Linked DNA regions of Homo sapiens: region 2 is linked to region 1. Evidence: promoter capture Hi-C in 16 types of primary human blood cells and fetal thymus (Javierre and others, 2016). All regions are on one chromosome and are shown on one strand. Each heading gives the region's core, a stretch centred on a gene start or on the middle of the fragment in contact. The rest is flanking DNA. Distances are from core to core; before and after follow the strand shown. Region 1 holds the start of HTR3E (5-hydroxytryptamine receptor 3E). Region 2 holds the start of EIF2B5 (eukaryotic translation initiation factor 2B subunit epsilon).

Region 1 (5,094 bases), core at 1,518-4,017:
CTGGGAGGCGGAGCTTGTGGTGAGTGGAGATCGTGCCATTTCTCTCCAGCCTGGGCAACAAGAGTGAAACTACGTCTCAAAAAAAAAAAAAAAAAAAGAGACAGACATGTATAGCAATGGAATAGAATAGAGAACCCAGAAATAAACCGTCACACAAATGGCCAAATTATTTTTGCAAGAGTTCCAATGGGGAAAAGACAGACTTTTCAAGTAGTAGTATTGGGAAAACTGGATATCCATATGCAAAGAAATGAAGTTTGACCCTTACCTAAAACCATATACCAAAATTAACTCAAAATGGATAAAATATTTTACATGTAGGGCTGGACGCGGTGGCTCACTCCTGTAATCCCAGCACTTTGGGAGGCTGAGGCGGGCAGATCACCTGAGGTGGGGAGTTCGAGTCCAGCCTGACCAACATGGAGAAACCCCGTCTCTACTAAAAATACAGAATTAGCTGGGGGTAGTGGCACATGCCTGTAATCCCAGCTACTTGAGAGGCTAAGGCAGGAGAATCACTTGAACCCAGGAGGTGGAGGTTGCAGTGAGCTGAGATCATGCCATTGCACTCAGCCTGAGCAACAAGAGTGAAACTCCGTCTCAAAAAAAAAAAAGAAGATTTAAGTGTAGACCTAAAACAATAAAACTCCTAAAAGAACACATAGGGAAAAAGCTTCAAAACATTGGAGTTAGCAGTGATTTCTTGGATATGACACAAAGGCATAGGCAACAAAAGAAAAAATAGACAAATAGTACTTCATGAAAATATTAAACATCTATGAATCAAAAGACACTATTAACAGAGGAAAGAAGACAACCCACAAAATGGGAGAAAACATTTGCAAATTATATAGCTGATAAGGGATTAATATCCAAACTATACATAGAATTCCTGAAACTCAACAACAAAAAACAACTTGATTTAAAAATGGGTAAAAGGTTAGCCATAGTGGTTCATACCTGTAAATTCCAGTGATTTGGGAGGCTGAGGCAGGAGGATTGCTTGAGGCCAGGAGTTCAACACCAGCCTGGGCAGCATAGCAAGGCCCTGTCTCTAGAAACAATAAAAAAAAATTAGCCACACATGGTGGCATGCACCTGTAGTCCCAGCTACTTGGGAGGCTGAGGTGGCAGGATTGCTTGAGCCCTGGAGTTCAAGGCTACAGTGAGCTATGATCATACCACTGTACTCCAGCCTGGGAGACAGTGAGACCCTGTCTCTAAAAAAAACAAAACAAAACAAAAAGCAAAACTCAGTGGACAGATTAGACACAGCTGAGGGCCGGGCACGGTGGCTCACGTCTGTAATCCCAGCATGGTGGCTCACAGTTGAGGGCCAGGCATGGTGGGAGACAGTGAAACCCTCTCTCTAAAAAACAAAAAAACAAAAAAACAAAACCAAAACTCAGTGGGCAGATTAGATGGACAGATTAGACACAGTTGAGGGTCAAGCACAGTGGCTCACTCCTGTAATCCCAGCACTTTGGAAGGCCGAGGTGGGCAGATCAGCTGAGGTGAGGAGTTCAAGACCAGCCTGGACAACATGGTGAAACCCTGTCTCTAATAAAAATACAAAAATTAGCTGGGTGTGGTGGCACAAGCCTGTAGTCCCAACTACTCAGGAGGCTGAGACAGGAGAATCGCTCAAATCAAGGAGGTGGAGGCTGTAGTGAGCCAAGATCACGCCACTGCACTCTAGCCTGGGCAACAGAATGAGACTCCATCTCAAAATAAAATAAAATATGGAAGGCATCCATACTTGCATTTTGCATTCTTCGTATGTAATCATATTGTCAAAGACAAATTATGTCATAATCTATTGTAAATAACACTTTTCCCCAGACCTACCATAAAGTTTCTGCAATGTATTGTCTTCCAGTTGCAATAAAAATTACTGAGTTTCATCAAAAATTAATTAATTAATTAATTAAAATAAACACAGTTGAGGAGAGAATTTTTTTCCTGGAAGCTAGATCTGAAGAAATCATTAGGGACAGAGATAAAGAGGTAGAAAATAGGAAAGAGAGGTGTGCTAGGCAGAATAACGGCCCCCAGAATTTGTCCACATCCTAATCTCTGGAACCTTAGGTTATATGGAAAAGGGGAGTTAAGGTTGCAGATGGAATTAAGGTTGTTAATTATCGGACTTTGAGATGGGGAGACTATCCTGGATTATCCAAATGGACACAATGCAATCACAAAGGCTCTTATAAGTGGAAGAAGGAGAGAGAAACAAATAAGAACCAGAGAGATGAGATGCCTTGTGAGAAACATTGGCCTGATGTTGCTGGTTTTGAAGATGGAGAAGTAAAAATAATGAACCAAGAAATACAGGCAGTTTAAAAGCTGGAAAAGGCCGGGTACAATGGCTCATGTCTATAATCCCAGCACTTTGGGAGATCAAGGTTGGAGGATCACTTGAGGCCAGGAGTTGGAGACAAGCCTAGGCAACAAAGCGAGACCTCATTTCTACTAAAAAAAAAAAAAATAGCCAAGCTTGGTGGCTCACACCTGTGAGGTCCCAGCTACTTGGGAGGCTGAGACGGAAAGATCCCTTGAGCCCAGGAGGTCAAGGCTGCAGTGAGTCGCGATTGCGCCACTGCACTCCAGCCTGGTCAACAGAGTGAAACCCTGTCTCAAAAAAAAAAAAATCTGGAAAAGGCAAGGAAATGGATTCTCCTCTAGAGCCTCCAGAGGGAATGCGGTCCTGCTGACACATTCATTTTAGCCCAGTGAGACCCATTTCAAACTTCTGGCCCACAGAACAGTAAAATAACAAATTGTGTTTATTTAAGCCACTGGGTTTGTGATTTGTTACAACAGCAATAAAAGGCATGTAAGATAGAAGGAAACCATTCAACACATGTCTAATAAGAAAAATAGAGGAAGTGAAACATTTATAAATGTCTGAGAATTTTCCAAAATTGAAGAGATGAGTCTTCAGACCAAGGGATCTCACCAAGATCTGCAAGTTGATCACGTATGAACTATCTATAACCATTTACGTTGCAGTGAAATACCTAAGACTAAGATAAAGTCTTAAAAGCAGACTGAACCTTAAGCATAGGCAAGAACAAGACAACCAGAACACTCTTTGAAGGAAGGTTACAAATGTCAGTGGTCAACCAATGCTATTAGTATTCAAAGTCAGACTCTAGGTGTGGCCTGTGCTGCTTTAATCTGGGCATTCCTGGGTCCCAGTACATGTTCAGAGAAGAACTTAGACAAAGAAGATGGAAGGAAGCTGGTTCCACAGGAAAAGATTTTCCTTCTACCTCCTTCTCGGTTTTCTGCTTCAAGGTAAGAAAGGAGCAATGATGGGGGAAGGCGGAAGAAGGAGGACCTCTCTCTAGTAGAACATCTAGGAACTTTTTTCAAATTTCCAACTCCTAGAGATTGTCTAAGATGGATAGAGTTCTTTCATAGCTACATTACTAAGATGCCCACATAGACTTTCCTTTTCTGAAAGACGGAAAATCCCCTTCCAGTTACATGCCAAACAAGAGCACTTTCATTTTCCTTCTCGAAAAATAGAGTTCAACACCAGCAAACTTTATCCTTTCACATATGGATATCCAGTTTTCCCAATACTACTTGAAAAGTCTGTCTTTTCTCCATTGGTACCCTACATGGAAGACAACCATCCACGATCGTCTTCTCTTGTATTTAGCTTCTATATCCATCCATCTTTCTATCCACAGGTGTAATTCTTTCTCTCTACAGGTATGAAACCCAAACCATTGTAGCAAAGTGCCCACCTCCTTTAGCCATAATTTCCCTGTCCATCTGCTGGATCCAAGGGCTCTAGGTTAGGTAAGGTGCCAGAAGGCAGCAGGTCAAGGGTGAAAGTAGAATGTGCTTCTCTTCCAGGGGGTCAGCATGGTAGAGAGACAAGAACATGGGATTTGGAGACAGGTGGACCTGGGTTTGAATCTTGGTGTCTCACGTTGCTAGTTTTATAAACTTGGATGCACTGCTTAACTTATCTGAGCTCTGGTTTCCTCATCTGTAAAACAGAACCTACCTTGCAGGGTTGTGAGGATTCAGTAAGAGAAGGAGGGAAGCACAGTGTCTGGCACTTGGTAAAAGTGCCAATAACTGTCATCTCTCCTCGTTAGATTATTCCATGACTTTGGATAAGGAGGCACAGGAGAGGACTGAACCAGAGGTGACTTTAAAGGCCAGCACAGGGAAGAGACACAAATTGTACACCTGGTCTAGGCAGTGTAAATGGTTATGAAAGCTCCTCTGGGCACTTGCACACAGGGGTTGACAAATGAATATTCACTGTTCTTAGAGTGGTTTAAGAATTTGCTGGAAAGCACTGTGACGTTGGGAATGGATAAGGCTCAATGTCCTTGGCACAGAGGTTATCAACCATCTCTCTCAGTCCAAGTTGTTGCTCCTCCAACACATTTTCATGACTAGAAAATTTAAAAATTTATTAGTTAGAAGAGGGTGGGACGGGTCAGGTGAGGTGGCTCACACCTGTAATCCCAGCACTTGGGACGCTGAGGCAGGCGGATCACCTGAGGTCAAGAGTTCAAGACCAGCCTGGCTAACATGGTGAAACCCCATCTCTACTAAAAATACAAAAACTAGCCTGATGTGGTGGTAGTGCCTGTAATCCCAGTTACTTGGGAGGCTGAGGCAGAAGAATCGGTTGAACCTGGGAGCCAGAGATTGCAGTGAGTCAAGATCGCACCACTGCACTCCAGCCTGGGTGACAGAGTGAGACTCCCTCTAAAAAAAATTTAAAAATTTAAAAAAGAAATTAAAAAAAAATCCCACCCACACTTCTAAAAATAGCTATGTGGCTAGGAATGGTGGCTCACACCTATAATTCCAGAACTTTGGGAGGCCCAGGTGGGAGAATCACTTGAGCCCCGGGGTTTGAGACCAGCCTGGGCAATATAGTGAGATCCCCGTCTCTACAAAAATTTTTTAAAAAAATTAGCCAAGTGTGGTGGGGAACGCCTGTAGTCACAGTTACTTGGGAGGCTGAGGTGGGAAGATCCCCTAAGCCCAGAGGCTGAGGCCAAGTGATTGCGCCACTGCACTCCAGCCTGGGCAGTAGAGTGAGTCGCTGTCTCA
Region 2 (3,764 bases), core at 439-2,938, 38 kb after region 1:
AAACAACAACAACAAAAAACAGTTTGAGAGAGTCTTCCTGAAACTCGTCTATTAAAATCATATCCATATAGCTACCAGTCTACAGAATTTTAAGACCTGGATTTACCATAAGCACAAATGCCTTTCGGCAGCGGATTCACCACTTCCCAACTTCCCAAGGTTGCGGGAATCATTTAAAATAAATTCTGCAATCGGACCTACTTTCCATACCCAAACACCCCCCCAAGAGTGTGTGTGTGTGTGTGTTTGTGTGTGTGTGTGTGTGTCCTATTTAATTCCTTCTCCCCTCCCCCATTTCTACCTCTGGATTTGTAGGGCAGTTGAACATTCCTTTTCTACAACGTGCATTCATTTAATGGAAAACTTTTACTTAGTTGGCTTCAGCCTTTCCTTTTCTAGGATAAATCAAATGGTTTTCGTTCCGCACCCTAACGAGGCAAGAAATGACAAACTCCTCGGTCCCCCTAGGCGGGCGCCGGAGCACGACGGGTCAAGTCGGAATCGCCACGTGGAAACAGCTCTCAGCATCGCGAACTCCAAATCCCGACGTGCAACGCGGGGCGGGATGGGAACAGTTTGCAGGAACTGCAGAAGCCTGTGGCGTGGAACCTGGACAGGTCCCGTGCAGAAAGGGCGCTATGCCTTACAGAAAAGTTCCTTGCCTCCCAAATGACGCCCAGCCTTCCTGCCCCGTTCCACCGCTTTCCCACGGCCCCGCCCCTCTACAGAGTTGGTTTATTCCCCGCAGCCACCGCTTCTTTCCCCAAAGAGAAAAAGGTGCTGCTGCGCCTTTTCAAGCCTTGGACCTTTACGCCCGCACTTTCCTCTGCCCAGAAAGCTTACTGCTTAACTCCAGTACAACTTACTGGTGCGCCTGGATCCACCCCCGTCTCCACTCTGCTTAAGACACAGGAGGCTGATAGGCTGGAAGAATGAATAGATGACATAAAATAGTCATTGTTATCCCCACATAACTTGGCAGCAAGATTGTGGAACTCTGCAGTCAGACAGATCGGGTTCCAATACCAGTTCTTCCACTTACTAGCTGGGTAAACTTCCTTCATCCTTCTGAGAGTTCAAGAAACGTTTGCTGAACGAATGAATAAGATGTTTTGCAGAGATAATGCTTGTATCGTGCCTGGCCCAAAATCAGCGCTCAATGGAATTACTGGTCTCCCTACTATATGCCTGCCACCTTCTCTATTTATGCAGGTTCTGAGTTCCTCGCAGCGGGGGAACATCTGGCTCGGTTCTATCTCCCCAAGGCGCTGGGTTCCCAGAAGTTTCTAGAATGAATACGGAGGGCTACATATTTCACATGCGCGGGGCGGGGAAACTGCTGGGCGATTACAGATTCCCGATGGAGCTGGCCCCTTCGTGGCGACCACAAGTCCTATCACGCCACAAGAATCTCGGCTTGTTCACCTACAAATGAAGGCCGACGATACTTGCAGACCGAGTCTGACATCTATGGGACCCCACTCCTACCCTGCGCCTCAGGGGCCGGGACAACCGTGACCCGTACCGACTCCTCGCGCCTCCGGGATCAACCTCAGACCCCTGTGGGCTCCCGGGGAAGACGCATGCGCACTGCTCCCTCCTCGTCTCCTTCCCTTCGTTAATTAGTCCATCGCATTTCAAGTGCTGGATCCTTTTTGTCCCCTACTGCGTGCGGTGGCAGCTTCCTTGCGGAAGTGGTGACCGTGAGAGAAGAAGATGGCGGCCCCTGTAGTGGCGCCGCCTGGTGTGGTGGTTAGTCGGGCTAACAAGCGCAGCGGCGCGGGGCCGGGAGGCAGCGGTGGCGGGGGAGCCAGAGGGGCGGAGGAGGAACCGCCGCCGCCCCTACAAGCAGTTCTGGTGGCCGATAGCTTCGATCGCCGCTTCTTCCCCATCTCCAAGGACCAGCCTCGGGTGAGCGCCGCGCACGCGAGCAGCCAGAGGGCAGGAAGGGTGGCAGGGCTGGAGCAAGTTCTCATTTCGGCTAACTACAACAGCATGCCCTTGAAGGACCTGCGTCTATGCTGTTATCCTAAAACCGGATGCAGAGGGACTGTCTAAACCCTGATGACTGCTGACCAAGTTAGTGGCCGGCAGATTTGGGCATTCGTAATGCTGTCCACCTCGGGTTTGAAAGGAATGAAGAGAGCTAAATGTAGAAACAGCGCTTGAGAGAAGCCTTCACGCGGGGATTCAGTGCCCCTAGAAGAGGCTGCGCCGCTTTTAACCTTGCCGATGACGGTTGCTTAGGTGAAAAGAAACGACCTTTTGCCTCTGAAAGGGCGGTAATATGCCTTAAAAAGAGCGGGCTAGATCTCAGGCAGTGTATTTTTTTTTTCCTTCCAGGTTCTAATGATAGCCGGTGCTATCTGTCGAAAGGACAAAATGGGTTTAGTGGTTGATTGCCATCAGCCCCCGAGTTGTCTAGACAATGGGGTATTGGACTCAGCTGGGTCGTTCAGCAGTCAGTTCAGAAAGAGGGAACTGCATTGGATTTAAGGAAAATCCTCTCTAATTCCCTCGAAAAAGCCTAATGGCTGTTCATTTTTGACAAGTGACGGGAGATGGCTAACCTCTGACACTTAGAAAGGGATCAAGGAAGGAAATCTTATGGGGAAGAAGGCCTTAGCAATGCTTAAATTTATGGAAATATGATTGATTTCCAGTATTATCCTTTGCCAGCAGTGAACTGCCATTCTGTCACAGCTCTGTGTCTGATACAAGGCACATAGATTCTGTACTTACCATCCCCAAATTGCAATGTCTCAGACTCAGGCTTAGAGCATGGCATGAACATCAAAGGCAGGAACCTGTTTATCTTTGAATTGGAAAGATACAGCAAAATTACACTGTTTGGAAATACGAATAGAGGAGTGAAAATTGTTGCAGTGGGGTACCCAAAGGGATTCGAGACCTCAAGTTTTTTTTCATCTTGTATCCTTCAGGTCCTCTTGCCCCTGGCCAATGTGGCATTAATTGACTACACTCTGGAATTCCTGACTGCCACAGGTGTACAGGAAACATTTGTCTTTTGTTGCTGGAAAGCTGCTCAAATCAAAGAACATTTACTGTAAGGCCCTGCAACTTTTCTTTCCATGTTTCGCCATCTTTTTCCAGTTTTTTCAGGATGAATGTAACTAAGGGGAAATGTGAGAGGGGAAAAATGTGTCTACTTAGATGTCATTGTAAGTTCTAAGGGTATTTTCTACACTTATCAGGAGGTGAGCAGCTGAAACTTTGTATCTGTCTGTCTTGGGTTTTCTGTGACAAAGATTAAAGAATAAACTTGGGTTTTTTCTGAATCTCATTATAAAGTTTGGTGCCAGTGGACTTTGCTTTTATTTAATGGCTTCAGTATGGAAGTTACAATGATAACATCTTTGTTTTCCCACTGAGTTTCTAAATCTTGTTTGTTCTCACCTTCAAGGATATAAATGAGCTCCTTGTCATCTTTGTATTCCCACTGCCTAGCTCAGTCCCAAGCATATAGTGAGCACTTACATGTTTGTTGAAATCTTGAAAACTAGGGAATCGCATTGCTTATGGAAGTCCAGGATGTAAAGACTAGGACATTAGCATGGTCTCCATCAGACAGTTCCTAAATGTTATATGGATTGCAGAAGGGGAAAGCTGACGTGAAGCGTGTTCCCAGGCTACTTTGTGTACCCTAGGCTTCAGCAGGATTTTGAGTTCAAATTGATGTTTAGGGACAAGGGGTCAAGGTATGGAGAGGAAATAACCATGTTTCCTAACCCATAAAACAAGAC

What was found. The method cuts DNA at HindIII sites, captures the fragments that hold promoters and counts their contacts. A CHiCAGO score of 5 or more calls a contact.
Region 2: the fragment with the promoter of EIF2B5 here is called in contact with the fragment with the promoter of HTR3E in region 1 in 1 of 17 cell types (neutrophils); the score reaches 5.2 in neutrophils.

What each region holds. Positions count from the first base shown.
Region 1 is chr3:184,094,297-184,099,390 of GRCh38, forward strand. HTR3E (5-hydroxytryptamine receptor 3E) reads left to right here and starts at 2,768. Exons shown (of 9, transcript NM_001256613.2): 1 at 2,768-3,300. The coding sequence starts at 3,234. It overlaps HTR3E-AS1 (HTR3E antisense RNA 1), which reads right to left. Exons shown (of 3, transcript NR_133658.1): 3 at 822-1,054. The HindIII fragment of the contact is 4,461 bases long and covers 2,495-5,094 here.
Region 2 is chr3:184,133,670-184,137,433 of GRCh38, forward strand. It overlaps EIF2B5 (eukaryotic translation initiation factor 2B subunit epsilon), which reads left to right and starts at 1,689. Exons shown (of 16, transcript NM_003907.3): 1 at 1,689-1,911; 2 at 2,943-3,067. The coding sequence starts at 1,717. It overlaps EIF2B5-DT (EIF2B5 divergent transcript), which reads right to left and starts at 1,592. Exons shown (of 2, transcript NR_183721.1): 1 at 867-1,592; 2 at 1-609. RefSeq lists enhancers at 78-719, 1,589-1,648, 1,969-2,038 and a silencer at 1,789-1,898. The HindIII fragment of the contact is 10,653 bases long and covers 837-3,764 here.